Linked DNA regions of Homo sapiens: regions 2, 3, 4 and 5 are each linked to region 1. Evidence: promoter capture Hi-C in human tissues and cell types (Jung and others, 2019). All regions are on one chromosome and are shown on one strand. Each heading gives the region's core, a stretch centred on a gene start or on the middle of the fragment in contact. The rest is flanking DNA. Distances are from core to core; before and after follow the strand shown. Region 1 holds the start of TRAF7 (TNF receptor associated factor 7). Region 2 holds the start of TSR3 (TSR3 ribosome maturation factor). Region 3 holds the start of FLYWCH1 (FLYWCH-type zinc finger 1). Region 4 holds the start of PRSS33 (serine protease 33). Region 5 holds the start of PRSS27 (serine protease 27).

Region 1 (2,617 bases), core at 87-2,586:
GGCCTGTGTGTGCCCAGGAAGGGGTCTGAGGGGTAGTGAGAAAGGTGGGCAGACAGGCTGGGCGGCATGAAATTCCTGAGCAAGCCAGCAGCCCCTCACCCCCAAGAGCAGGGTGGGCTCCAGCAGGCCCCTGCCCCTGGACTCCAGACTCAACCCCAGCTGACCACTCTGGCCTGGCTCAAGACAACCGTATCTTGACAGCAGGACCCCAGTGGGGACTAGGAGACGATGGCCTAGCCTCCCTCTCTCCTGCTTCCCCAGTGAACTCTGAAGTCTGTGGTCCACACACAGTTAGAAAGCTCTTTACTGGACCTAGATCGGACCGCCTCTCCAGCGCTTCCTCAACCCCAAGTCATTTGCCAGCATAATAACCCCCCCGCCCCACCCCACCATGCACCCTGTGAGCCTGGTCCGGCCTCATCGACTTCACCTCTCCACTTGCCAGTGCTTGCTGGGGTGCGTCAGGCCCCTTCTCACCCCAGGCCTATGTACATCTGGCTCTTTCTACTTGGAATGCTCCTCCTGCATGTCCTGGGACTGGCTGCTTCTCCAACAGGCCTTTGGCTAACGGTAGCGCCGCCCCTACCCCCGGCCAGTACTCACTTTTTCAGCACCCTCTTTCTTTCTTTCACAGCACATACCGCTGCTCCCCATGATTTTAACTACCTATTGTCAATCCCACCACCCTGTCTGTCTAGATGGGGGATGGGGGGAGTTGTTCCGCAGGAGGCATTTGCCAATGCATGGAGACATTTGTTATCGCAATTGAGGAAGGGGTGGTGTTTACTGGTATCTAGCGGCCAGGAGCCAGGCAAGCTGTTCCACATCCTACAATGTACAGGGCAGCTCCTCGCAGCAAAAAGCGACCCGGGCCGCGTGGTCGATGGTGCGGAGGTTGGGGAACCCTGCAGCAGACGCCGAGCACAGGAGAACTGGGACCGTGTTCTCCGCGGTCTCCCGGCGCCCAGAACAGTGCCTGGCACCCGGGAGTCTCGGGGAATGCAGGAAGAAGGAATGAGTAAAGAACTGCGCGAGAACAGGACGGAGCGAGGGACGGACTACTGACTGGCGGACGGACAGCGACGCGGACCCCGACCCTGACCCCGACCCCGACCGTCTCAGCCCCGCCCCCCCCTCCCCGCCCCGGCCCGACCCCTCGCCTCGCCTCGCCTCGCCTCGATCTCCACGCGCCCGATCCCGCCCCACCGCGCGGTCCCGAGGCGCGAGCCCCGGGTCGGGCGCGCCGCGGGGACACTCACCCGCCCGCGGCCGCCCGGGAGCGGCAGCGCCGCCAGCCCGCTTCATGATGCCCCCTCGGCCGCCGGCCGGGAAAGGGACTAGACGCGCGAGCCGGAAGCGCCAGGCCGCTGCGCCCGCCGGGACGTGTAGTTCCCCGCCTCTCCGGGCCCGGACGGCTGCCTCACGCGCCGCACTTCCGAAACTACGACTTCCGGCGGCCTCGTCGTCGCGGGGCGGGAATGGCAGCTTCAGAATCACTCTATGTTGCAGATCGAAGTCTGATTGGCTTTGTTCATCCGTCACTCACCGTTAGGCTTCACGGACTCTGCATAAGGGAGGAGCTTCGGGTCTGGGTCTGAGAGACCGTCTCCAAAAGAAATGCCACGGTACGATTGGTGGAAACAACGCGGCAGGGAGCGGAGCGTACCAGCGGCGGGGGAAGGCGGGCACTTCCGCCAGGATAGCCCAATGACAGAGGTGGGACAGTTTCTATAAAAGCTTGAGCCTCGCCCGCCCCTGTCTTTTCGGGGTCGAGTCCGAGGGGGAAGAGGTTTGTTAATACGTTCGCCATGTGCTACGATCTTGGGACGAACTGAGCCACGAGCGTGGCTTTGAGGGCCGTCCGAACGCTGCAGGCCGGCCAGGTCCCTGGGCGTCCAGGCCTGGCCTACGCACCACTTTGTCCCTTAGCGTTTAAAGGTTTCTTCCCGAATCTCAGGCCCTCAGCTACCTGCAGGTAAGACTGGGCCGGGCTTGGGTTCCCTTATTCTCCCAGTCTGTGATGAATTGCTTTGACTTCTGACACCTCGTATGAAAACTGCACGTGCAGTCTGATTATTTAGCAAGACTGAGGCTTGAGGGTGCGCACTCCTGACGGGGAGCTGAGAGTGGAAACAGGTGTTGCCCGAAACGAAGGAGTGGGGACTTAATGTCTGTATTTTGGCGCTGACTTTCAGGTTTCGTCGCGAGCCGGCTGCAAGTTTTGAACCTAAGTAAACCTCAATCCGGAGGGCCTAGCGGTAAGGTGGGCGCTGTGTCTATTGAAGTGCTTAGCAATAAAGAAAGGTAGTGAGTTGATTCGGTTTTCTCTCAAGTGTCTTTATTTTCCTATTCTGGCACCCCAGAGGTCTGGCTGATCCACAGGCAATCTTGGAAAAGGGTACAGACATGAAAACGGAAGCTCGTTACCAGTGACTTTTCATCTCTTGGGATTGCCTTCTCCATTTCTGCCCGTGATTTTTTTTTTTTTTTTTTGAGACGGAGTTTTGCTCGTTTCCCAGGCGGGAGTGCGATGGCACAACCTCCACCTCAAGCGATTTTCCTGCCTGAGCCTCCCAAATGGCTGGAATTACAGGCGCCCACCACCACGCCCGGCTAA
Region 2 (2,617 bases), core at 47-2,546, 800 kb after region 1:
GAAATAAACCCTATCTCTACTAAAAATACAAAAATTTGCTGGGCGTGATGGTGATGCATGCCTGTGATCCCAGCTACTCGGGAGGCTGAGGCATGAGGATCGCTTGAACCTGGGAGGCGGAGGTTGCAGTGAGCCGAGATCGTGCCACTGCACTCCAGCCTGGGCGACAGAGCGAGACTCTTGTCTCAAAAAAAAAAAAAAAAAAATTCTTGGATTTTTGTCTATTATATTTAATACTCATTCAGCGTTTAAATGATATATATACTCATGACCCACCAATTCCACTTCTGGAATCCTGCACTGGGAAACCGCTCACCTGAGGGCAAACCAAAGCACCTACACAGCATGTTCTCCACAGAACTATTTCTAATGGCCAAAAAAATGGCAAGAACCTAAATACAATCGGGGAGTGCAGTGCCATCCTATCGCGTGCTGAGCACCAAGAGAAAGAACGAAGACCTATATCATCACCATGAAGCGTCCCGAGAGATACAGCGAGTGACAACGACAAATCAGCCAAATACTCGCGCAGCATGATTTTTTAAAAAAGCGATTAGATTACAAAAACTATACGTTTTCCAGTTGCATAGACACGCACGTAAAAGCACAGAAACGCGTCTGCAAAGTCACCAGACTATTAACAGCAGTTACCTCTCGGAAAGGAAAGGAAGGACTAAGTCTGGAGATAATTTAATTCGCTACAAGAACGTTCTGGTATATTCTCTCGTACTTCCACATTAATTTTAGAAGGCTGACAAACCAATGCTTTAGACTCCGGGCCGTAACTCTCAGGGTCACTCATCCATCCTCCACTGTTGCTGCTCCCCGCGGCCACCCCCGCGCCGGCCAACAGCGCTCCTCACTCACCAGACACGGGTGAAGGATCCCTCTTGGCCTGGAGGCGACTGGCCTGAGGCAAGAACGGGTTGTTCACCCTACGGGAAGCGGCAAGGTCAGCGGGGAACGGGCCCGGGCCGTCCCCCGCTCGAGCCGCCAGCCCGCGAGGCTGCTCACCCAAACGCGTTGGGCTCCTCCACCACCTTCATCTTCGCTGCACCTGCCGGCGCGGGCCCTACGGGGAGCGAGACCGTGAGCGGGGAGGCCGGGGTGCAGAGCGCGCGCGGGGCCTGGGGACGCGGACGGCCGGGCCACTCACCGCCGGCCGAGAGCCCGAGGAGCAACAGGAGCCGCGCCAGCCCCGCCGCCATCGCGCCGCAGCGGCCGCCGCGCGGTCACGTGAAGTGACGGTCACGTGACCACGGGGACCGGAAGTGGCGTCCGGCGCAAGCGCTGGCAGCCGCACAGCCCATTGGGAGGCCGAGGGGCGCGGCCGTGGGGTGGGGAGTCCCCGGCACCCCAGGTCCGCGCCATGGGCCGCAGGAGGGCAGCGCGCGGGCCGGGGGCGGAAGGCGGCCGCCCTCGGCACCTCCCGACGCGCTCCCTGGAGGCCTTCGCCGAGGAGGTCGGCGCCGCGCTGCAGGGTGAGCGAGGCGTGATGGGGAGAGCGGGTCAGGGTTTGAGGGCCTGCCCGGGGGTCCCACGCTGAGGCCGAGTGCCCTTCTCTCTCTCGTGCAGCTTCCGTGGAGCCAGGGGCGGCTGACGGCGAGGGCGGCCCGGGCCCGGCGGCGCTGCCCTGCACGCTGGCCATGTGGGAGTTGGGCCACTGCGACCCCCGGCGCTGCACGGGCCGCAAGCTGGCCCGCCTGGGGCTGGTGCGCTGCCTGCGCCTGGGCCACAGATTCGGCGGTCTGGTGCTGAGCCCCGTGGGCAAGCAGTACGCGTCCCCCGCAGACAGGTAGGCGCGGGAGGCCTGCCCGAGGTCGTCTTCATTTCCAGCGCGTGGTTCCCTTCAGGGATGGTTTAGTGGCACTTGTATGTCGCACCCACATCCACACCCACGTGGGCAGGGAACGTCTGTCTAGTTTGCCTCCGTTGCGTAGCGCAGAGCCTGGGATAAAGGAGGTTTTGGGGTAATAAACGTTTGTTGAGTGAATAAACACATGCTCCAGGTGCCCCAAGCAGCTGCCTCAAAAGCTTGCTCGTGAAGTCCGTTTGAGGGTGTTTGGGGATGGCGGAATGATGTCCCTGAATCCCTTAGCTAGGCCATTCTCCGGGGCATGCTCCACCTTGGGTAGTGCTGGCTCCTGAACTTATCCCATGCTGTCCCTGGCAGACAGCTGGTGGCGCAGTCTGGGGTCGCCGTCATCGACTGCTCCTGGGCCAGGCTGGACGAGACACCGTTTGGGAAGATGCGAGGGAGCCACTTGCGCCTGTTGCCCTACCTGGTGGCCGCCAACCCCGTGAACTATGGCCGGCCCTACAGACTTTCCTGCGTGGAAGCGTTTGCTGCCACCTTCTGCATCGTAGGTGAGTCCAGGGGCCCCACAGCAGTGTGACCCGGCGGCCTGCTGTTCCTGCTATGCTCCCAGCATCATGTTTCCTGCCGACAGACCCCAGGAGGAGCATAAGGGACGGACAGGGGAACAGTTCAGACAGACCACGGTTCCAGCCCCAACTGTCACTTCAGGTTTTCGGCCTGTGGAGTTGCAGTAGAGGCAGAATGGGATCGCTGTTCTATCAGGGCCGGTGTGTGGGGTGCCATTCATTATCAGGGCAC
Region 3 (2,617 bases), core at 33-2,532, 760 kb before region 1:
CTTGCCAGCTTTGGCAAGCAGCCACTCCAATTCTCCACATAGGGTGCTGACAGGTCACTCTTCCTAAAGCTTAACTTTCAGCATGTCTCTCCCCAATTAAATCATCTCCATCTCCAGCCTTAGTGCATCATCAGCTGGGCGTCATAAACACTCCGCAATCTAGCCCCAACCTCAGCCTTGTTCCTTCCACACGTCCCGCCAGTAGCACTTGGGAAAGGAACAAGAGAAACATGATATAATCACACGAGAAAATCTAGATCAAGCCCTGGAAATCATATTGGCCCTTGGAAAGCAGAAATATGCAAATAAAAATAAGCCATTTCGTTGGAATTGGAGTTTGCACATGATTATCTGACTATGGGAGTTCAGCTTCCAGTACAAGGAATAAAGGAACAACAGGCAGGGTTTAGAGCGAGGGTTTCAACTACGTCAGACCCGTTATGTGCAGGCTCCATGGGTTAGCAGCAGCCTTTTGGAACGGGGTGGAAGAGAATGGAACGGAATTTAATCCGAACAGATCCAGCTGCGTCATGTGAGCTTAAACAAGCGTCTCCCTTTAAACTTGTGCTTCAGTCATCCAGACCCACAGGCACAGAGTACACGCGTAAAAGGCATTTCTCAGTGTCGGCTGTGGGTCAACAAAGTTCGAAAGCCGTCACCGGAGATCTATAGGGTCAGAAGCGGGAGCGGGGTGCGTCCCGACCCGCAAAAGTGCAAGGTCACTGGGACCGCCCGAGCTGCAACCGTGGGACGGGGCTGATGCTGCGGGTCCAGGAAGGCAGCGCTGGGCGGGGCAGACACCGCCAGGAAACGGCGGACGAGTGCGGGGATCCTTGATGTGGGGGTGTCGGGCTTAGGCCAGGGGACGGGGGGGTGGGGATGGAGGGGCGAGGAGCAAGGAGGGAATCGCGGGAGACCCCACAGGAGGCGGCCTGAGCGCCGGGACGCAGACCCCTCCCCAGCACCCGCAACCCTCGGGACCCCCGGGAGAGCCGGGCTGCGGGCGCGTCCACGCCGGGGACGCGGGACATTCCCCGCCCGCAGGGGCCTGTCCTCACCGACGGCAGCGGGGCCCTCCCTCTCCCGCGACAGCGCCGCGGCGGATCCTTCAGCCTCTGCCGCTGCAGCAGCGAGCGTCGACCCCGCGACCCAGGCCGCCGCCGCCACCCCGACCCGGGCACCAGCTCCCAGCCCCGACCTGCCCCTCGGGAGCGAGCCCCGTGACCGCGCGCGCGACCCCGCCGGGGAGCCGGCCTTGCGGAACGCTCAGGCGCGCTACTTCAGAGCATGCGCAGCAAGACCGCGCGGCCCGTTCCTTAGGTAAACCGCTGCTCCGGGTCTTCCCTGCGCGGCGCCGAGCCGCAGGCCTGGCCTGTCAGCGCATGGGGGCGGGGACGTAACTCACGGAAAAGGCGGGGCCATCCCGAGATTGGACGGCGGCGTCCAGGGGCGGAGCTAGGATGGGGGAGCTGAACAGGACGCTCTTGGCGTAAAGGGGCTGGGGTAGGGGGCGCTTAATTGAGACCCCAGGACGGTCCCCAGTATCTGAGGCTGCCCGCAGGAAACGGAGCGTTTGCTGAGATGCACTCTTGGGCCTGTCAGTTTCCTGACCCCGTGGGAAGGCGATTCTCATGCATCTCATTGACGCCCCCAGTGACCCTACCCCAGAGCGGAACCAGTGTGAGATTCAAATAAACAGCGATAGCAACGGATTATAACCTTGACTACGATATGAGTCCAAACTGAAGGAAATAAGTCAACGGGGGAGAAGGGACAGTTGTTTCTTACATCAGAAAGCCAACAACGACAAAAAAATACCTGGGCCGGGCGCGGTGGCTCACGCCTGTAATCCCAGCACTTTGGGAGGCCGAGGCGGGTGGATCACCTGAGGTCAGGAGTTCGAGAACAGCGTGGCCAACATGGTGAAACCCCGTTTCTACTAAAAATACGAACATTAGTCGGGCGTGGTACTGGGCGCCTGTAATCCCAGCTACTCGGGAGGCTGAGGCAGGAGAATAACTTGAACCCGGGAGGCGGAGGTTGCAGTGAGCCGAGACGGCGCCACTGCACTCCAGCCTGGGCGACAGAGTGAGACTGTGTCTAAAAAAAAAAAAGCAGAAATATTACATAGTATTACAAAGTCTGCATGACGTGTGATGTAACACATTGAATGTAGAAGCAGGTATGAGAGCCAGTAGTCTTCTTTTAAGCCCGCAACAAAGATATTTGCAAAAATGTATAACTATGTCACTCGTCTCACTAAATTTCTTTGGGAAAATATTGTACTTTTTCATAAAACTATGTTAACACAATCAGCTTACTATTTTTTGGTAAGATCTTTATTGAAATATAATTCACATACCATGCATTTCTCCCATTTAAAGTGTACAATTAAATGATATGTAGTATAGTCAGAGAGTTGTGCAAACAGCACCATAGTCAGTTTTAAAACCTTTCATCACTCCAAGAAGAAACCTTTAGCCACCACCCTCCAATTTGCTAATCACCCCAGCCCTAAGTAATATGATCTATTTTCTGTCTTTATAGATTTGCGTATTCTGCATATTTCATATAAATGAAATCATGCAACAAATATGTGGTCTCTTGTGACTGACTT
Region 4 (2,617 bases), core at 61-2,560, 630 kb before region 1:
AAATTGCTAGGTGCTGTGGCATGCACCTGTGGTCCCAACTACTTGGGAAGCTGAGGTGGCAGGATCACTTGAGCCCAGAGGTCAAGGACGCAGGGAGTTGTGATTGTACCACTGCACTCCAGCCTGGGTGACAGAGCAAGACCCTGTCTCTCTCTCCCTTTTTATTTTTTTTTGAGACAGAATCTCACTGCGTCGCCCAGGCTGGAGTGCAGTGGCATAATCTCGGCTCACTGCAACTTCCACCTCCCGGGTTCAAGCAATTCCTGTGCCTCAGCCTCCCGAGTAGCTGAGATTGCAGGCGCCCACCATCAGGCCTGGCTAATTTTTGTATTTTTAGTAGAGACGAGGTTTCACCATGTTGGCCAGGCTCGTCTCAAACCCCTGACCTCAAATGAGCCACCCATCTCGGCTTCCCAAAATGCAGGGATTACAGGCATGAGCCACCATGCTTGGCCAAGACCCTGTCTCTTTAAAAAAAAAAAGAAAGAAAAACAAAAAAAAAAAAAAGGAAAAAAGTACAACTATGGCAGGGCTGCAAAGGAGGCAGGAGGAGGTGGCAGAGCAGAAGGCTGAGGGATAAGAGGAGTTCACTATGCAGAGAGGGACTTGAGAGACTTCTAGGCAGCGAACACTGTGTATGAGCCCAAGAGGGAACTACAGGGCCCTGGACCATCCGGGCCCCGGTCCTCCACGGGCCTCGAGAGAAGGGGAGTTCCTGTCCCCTGACCCCAGCATCTTGCTCTGTCTCGGCCACCCCAAACCAAAGACTGCACTGGTCCCCAAGGTCAAGTCTCCCCCTGCCTCTGGTCAAGTAAGGAGTGCCACCAACTTTGAACCAGTCCCTTTCCACCTCCAGCTGCTCCAGACCCCGGATCTGGAAGGGGGCTGGCCATGCTGGGGTCTCTGGGTGGAGCTGTCTGGCCAGGACTTCCGTCTGAGATGGGATTTCTGGACAGAACAATGGAGCGCAGAAGCTCCAGCAACGTGTGCTCTGCAGGGAGCCCAGGTCAGGTTTGGAGAGGAGTTGCCCCGGATCCTGCAGAGCTTCCCCACCTGACTGCCACCCCTCCCAGCACCTACCCGCACCACTGCTCTCCGCCAGCCCCCACTTCTAGTACCTTGGCGCAAGGCAGGCTTCCTTTGAGAAACCCATTGACCCTTTCCTGCCACCTCTGAAGCTCTGCTCAAAGCATCTTTGTTTGAGGCTGGTCCGGTAAAGCCACAGCCCCGCCCCGGCCCTGTTCATTACTCCTTGGCTGAGCCTCGCGCTCTCCTGGCACTTTAAGCCCCCAGGCCCTCCCTCAACCCCAGTCAGCAGAAGGCGCCAGGCTGTGAGGGTGAGAGCAAGCCAGGGGCTGTGGGGGCTGCAGGGGCAGCCAGTGGGTGAGGATGAGGGTGAGGACGAGGAGGGGTGAAGGATGGGGGAGGGGGTGAGGATGAGGGAAGTGGTGAAGATGAGGGAGGGGAGTGAGGAGGAAGGGGGTGAGGATAGAGGAGGGGGTGAGGATGAGGGAGGGGGTGACGATGGGGGGGTGAAGGATGGAGGAGGGGTGATGAGAGAGGAGTGAGGATGAGGGAGGGGGTGAAGGATGAGGGAGGGGGTGAGGATGAGACAGGGGTGAGGATGAGGGAGGGGGTGAGGATGAGGGAGGGGAGTGAGGAGGAGGGGGCTGAGGATGGAGGAGGGGGTGAGGATAGAGGAGGGGTGAGGATGAGGGAGGGGTGAGGATGAGAGAGGGGTGAGGATGAGAGGTGAGGATGAGGGAGGGGGTGAGGATGAGGGAGGGGAGTGAGGAGGAGCAGGGGTGACGATGGAGGACGGGGTGAGGATAGAGGAGGAGGTGAGGATGAGGGAGGGGGTGAGGATGAGAGAGGGATGAGGATGAGGGAAGGGGTGAGGATAAGGGAGGGGAGTGAGGAGGAGGGGGGTGAGGATGGAGGAGGGAGTGAGGATGAGGGAGGGGGTGAGGATGAGGGAGGGGGTGAGGATGGGGGAGGGGGATGAGGGAGGGAGTGAGGATGACCGAGGGGGGTTAGGCTCCAGGGCTTCTGTCGAGACCAAGGATGCCCAAATATCTGGGTGGTGGGTGCTGCATACCTGGGCCCTGGGCAGAACGAAGGGTATACAGCCTGGGCCACCAGGATAAGTCCAGAACCCACCAGGAGCTGAGGACAGACAGAAGGACCACGGAGGGGGTGACGGGCTGGTGTGAGGATTGGTGCCCCTGGGCCAGGACTCTCCTCTCTTCTCCCTGCTGGCTCCAGACCAGAGTCCAAGCCCTAGGCAGTGCCACCCTTACCCAGCCCAGCCTTGAAGACAGAATGAGAGGGGTTTCCTGTCTCCAGGTCCTGCTCCTTCTGGTGCTGGGTGAGTGGGGACAGGGACTGGGGGTGAGGGCCGCAGACACCTTGGCTCCCAGTTCTCCCATCTCACTGCTCCCTGGGCCGGGCTCCCTGGAGCACTCTTGGGCTTTCTAATCTTGATTCCAAGGGCTCAATCCTCTCTGCCACTGACCTTGACCTCACCACACCTCGATGTGCTTGTCGGTGTCATGCTCATACGCCCTTGCCCCCTGCACCTTCACAGTGCTCTGGGGAGGGTTAAATAAGATAACAG
Region 5 (2,617 bases), core at 37-2,536, 560 kb before region 1:
GGTGGAGGCGGAGGCGGAGACGCGGGAGGGCGGGGCTAGGGAGGGCGATGCGGGGAGCCGGAGCCCGGACCATGAGGCTGGGAGCGCCCCTTCTGCACCCCTGGCCGCCCGCGCCGCGCCCCGCGCCCACCAGAGGGCAGCACCACGACGCGCGCGGACAAGGCTGAGGCGGGAACGGCCGCACCCCCAGCCCCGCCCGGAGCCGCCCGGCCCCGCCCCGCCCGCGAGTACCGACCCCCGGCGCCGGCGGGGAAACAGGTCCGGCGCCCCCGACCCCACGGCCCGGCCCCACTCTGTCTCTGACGTCAGCGCCGTGCCCCAAATAACTTCCTCCCCGAGCCTCTTCCGCCGCGGCGCCGCGCCCAGAGCCAGGCGGGGACACCGAAACGGTAACCCCGGCCCGGCCTTCCCGGAGCCGCTTCCGCCCCGCCTGGTGCCAGGAAGCCCCCGCCCCTTCCAAGGGATGGCAGCCGGGGCCCGGGTCGGCCGCCTGGGCCGCGCTGGCGCGCGCCTGAGGAACTTCTGGGGCCTGCTGTCCCGGGAGGAGGGTCGCTGCGGCCAACTCCGGACCCCGCCCCATGTCCCATCGCCTCCCCTGCCCTCGGCCCCGCAAACACCCCTGGCCTTGACTTTCCCACCAGCGCGGCCCAGCCCCACTGTGTTCCATCGGCGCTCAATAAAATACTGAATGAGGCCGGGCGCGGTGGCTCACCCCTGTAATCCCAGCGCTTTGGGAGGCCGAGGAGGGCGGATCACGAGGTCAGGAGATCGAGACTAGCCTGGCCAACACGGTTAAACCCCGTCTCTACTAAAAATACAAAAAATTAGCCGGGCGTGGTGGCACCTGCCTGTAATCCCAGCTACTCAGGAGGCTGAGGCAGGAGAATGGCTTGAACCTGGGAGACGGAGCTTGCAGTGAGCCGAGATTGCGCTCCAGCCTGGGCGACAGAGCGAGACTCTGTCTCAAAAAATTAAAAAAAATAATAATAATAATAATGAATGAAGCTGGACGGACTTCGCGTGCACCGCGGTCAGCTCGGGGTCTGCTGGGGGGTCTGGGTCAGCTCAGGGTCCAGGAACCGAGGCCAACGGCACCCCGTGCTGCGCTGGGGTGAGGGGTCTGCCCTGGGGTCTCGGGGTTCAGGGCTAGGTCACGGAGGAGTCGGCTCTGGGCGCTTCCTTCCTGAGGAGAGGAGCTGGGCAGGCCGGGCCGACGGGTTGGGCCGCATAGCCGGGCCTGTGCTCATCTCCAGCATAAAACTCCACTTCATGGAGCCTGCACCTCGCTCGTGCTCCAACGCTTCTGCCACCGCCGACCACGGCCCTGCGCCCCAGCCAGGCCTGAGGACATGAGGCGGCCGGCGGCGGTGCCGCTCCTGCTGCTGCTGTGTTTTGGTGAGTCGTGAAGGTGCAGGGTCCTGGTGGTGCAGTCCCCCACCAGGCTCCGCTGCACTGCCTGGGGCTCCGGCTCAGCCCCCTACTCCCTGGGACAGGCTGGGGCTGTGGGACAGGCCATCATCCCTCCTGCCCCTGAGCAGGTGGGAAGGCTCCAGATGTGCCAAGTGGGGAGTCCAAAGTGGGGAGGCAGGGTGGGAGGTGTGCGCACAGGCCCCAGAGGACCCCACCGGCATAACTGGGCAGCACCTCCTCCCATGCCTCTCCGCGGGCACTGGTGTGCCAGCTCTGGCCAGGCTCCCTGCTTCCTGCCACCTCGGCCTCTCCCCCCATTCTCTAGGTGAGGACAGGGGCCTCCTACGTGCAGGATGTGAACTCAGGCTCCAAGTGCCTGGACCATCATACTCGGGGTGGGAGGGTGGCCGAGCCGAGGGCTGCTGCCTGTGCCCGGAAGCCCCAGCAGGCTGGCTGCAGGCTCAGTAGAGAGCTGGGGGCAGGGGGTGTAGGTGGCAGAGGGCCCTGTCTCCTGCTGACAGAGGAACCGGTGATGCGCCACCGTGCCCTCTCCCAGTCCTGGGTCAGGGACAGCAGGTGCCAGCCAGGGGGCCCCACCTGCCAGGCCCCTCCCTGCGGGCCGGGACACTCTCTGTCAGGGAAAACCTCTCACATTCCTGGGCTAGCCTAGCCAGTCTGGCAGCCACCACACTTCCCTGTCCTCAAGTCACCTCCCAGGGCTGGGTCAGGTCATCCCAGGCTGCAGCTTAGCCAGTACTCCAGGCTTCCTTGTTCTCCTGGGTGGGAGGGCACCAGTGGCCCCTCAGTGGCCCGGCCTCCCCCACCCCATGCCCCCAGTCTCCCAGCACAAGGATGGTGCCCTCTGAGCAAGCCATGTGCACAGGAGGTGGAAGGCTGTGACTGCCCCTGAGCGGGGTGAGGAACCAAGGTCATTGCCAAAACTCTTTGGCAATGAGTTTTGCAGTCGGTTCACTAACAGCTGTGACCAGAGGCTGGACTCCTGGACACGTCCTCACTCCCAGCCCGAGGGTGGCACTCCCACCAGGTCTCTGGCTGGTGGTACCCACTAAGCTTCACCATCCCCACCAGCTACCAGCGAATCACAGGCCCAGGCCCCAAACAATGCTCCTGACACCCCCGGCACCCCTGGCTGTTGCTTCCAGCCCCCACAGGGCGCCCACCCTGAAGGGCTCAGCTGTCCACATCC

What was found. Contacts are between HindIII fragments. The study calls those that stand out against the background at their distance.
Region 2: a contact is called between the fragment with the promoter of TSR3 here and the fragment with the promoter of TRAF7 in region 1, in 1 of the 25 tissues and cell types used here (spleen).
Region 3: the fragment with the promoter of FLYWCH1 here is called in contact with the fragment with the promoter of TRAF7 in region 1 in 1 of the 25 tissues and cell types used here (spleen).
Region 4: a contact is called between the fragment with the promoter of PRSS33 here and the fragment with the promoter of TRAF7 in region 1, in 1 of the 25 tissues and cell types used here (lymphoblastoid cells).
Region 5: the fragment with the promoter of PRSS27 here is called in contact with the fragment with the promoter of TRAF7 in region 1 in 1 of the 25 tissues and cell types used here (lymphoblastoid cells).

Annotation. Positions count from the first base shown.
Region 1 is chr16:2,154,501-2,157,117 of GRCh38, reverse strand. It overlaps TRAF7 (TNF receptor associated factor 7), which reads right to left and starts at 1,336. Exons shown (of 21, transcript NM_032271.3): 1 at 1,260-1,336. SNHG19 (small nucleolar RNA host gene 19) reads left to right here and starts at 1,760. Exons shown (of 2, transcript NR_132114.1): 1 at 1,760-1,975; 2 at 2,196-2,336. SNORD60 (small nucleolar RNA, C/D box 60) reads left to right here and starts at 2,013; the gene lies at 2,013-2,095. RefSeq lists enhancers at 1-146, 147-728, 652-791, 802-901, 1,772-1,971 and a silencer at 1,202-1,291. The HindIII fragment of the contact is 10,583 bases long and covers 1-2,617 here.
Region 2 is chr16:1,350,557-1,353,173 of GRCh38, reverse strand. It overlaps TSR3 (TSR3 ribosome maturation factor), which reads left to right and starts at 1,296. Exons shown (of 6, transcript NM_001001410.3): 1 at 1,296-1,481; 2 at 1,576-1,795; 3 at 2,174-2,367. The coding sequence starts at 1,370. GNPTG (N-acetylglucosamine-1-phosphate transferase subunit gamma) reads right to left here and starts at 1,243. Exons shown (of 11, transcript NM_032520.5): 1 at 1,157-1,243; 2 at 1,015-1,072; 3 at 868-935. The coding sequence starts at 1,208. RefSeq lists a silencer at 1,019-1,718. The HindIII fragment of the contact is 21,021 bases long and covers 1-2,617 here.
Region 3 is chr16:2,910,596-2,913,212 of GRCh38, reverse strand. It overlaps FLYWCH1 (FLYWCH-type zinc finger 1), which reads right to left and starts at 1,282. Exons shown (of 10, transcript NM_001308068.2): 1 at 1,059-1,282. RefSeq lists silencers at 649-838, 812-911, 942-1,091, 1,112-1,421, 1,472-1,531. The HindIII fragment of the contact is 21,473 bases long and covers 1-2,617 here.
Region 4 is chr16:2,786,253-2,788,869 of GRCh38, reverse strand. PRSS33 (serine protease 33) reads left to right here and starts at 1,310. Exons shown (of 7, transcript NM_152891.3): 1 at 1,310-1,337; 2 at 2,266-2,368. The coding sequence starts at 2,323. The HindIII fragment of the contact is 27,852 bases long and covers 1-2,617 here.
Region 5 is chr16:2,718,893-2,721,509 of GRCh38, reverse strand. It overlaps PRSS27 (serine protease 27), which reads left to right and starts at 1,286. Exons shown (of 6, transcript NM_031948.5): 1 at 1,286-1,395. The coding sequence starts at 1,350. RefSeq lists a silencer at 1-715 and an enhancer at 449-1,016. The HindIII fragment of the contact is 19,281 bases long and covers 1-2,617 here.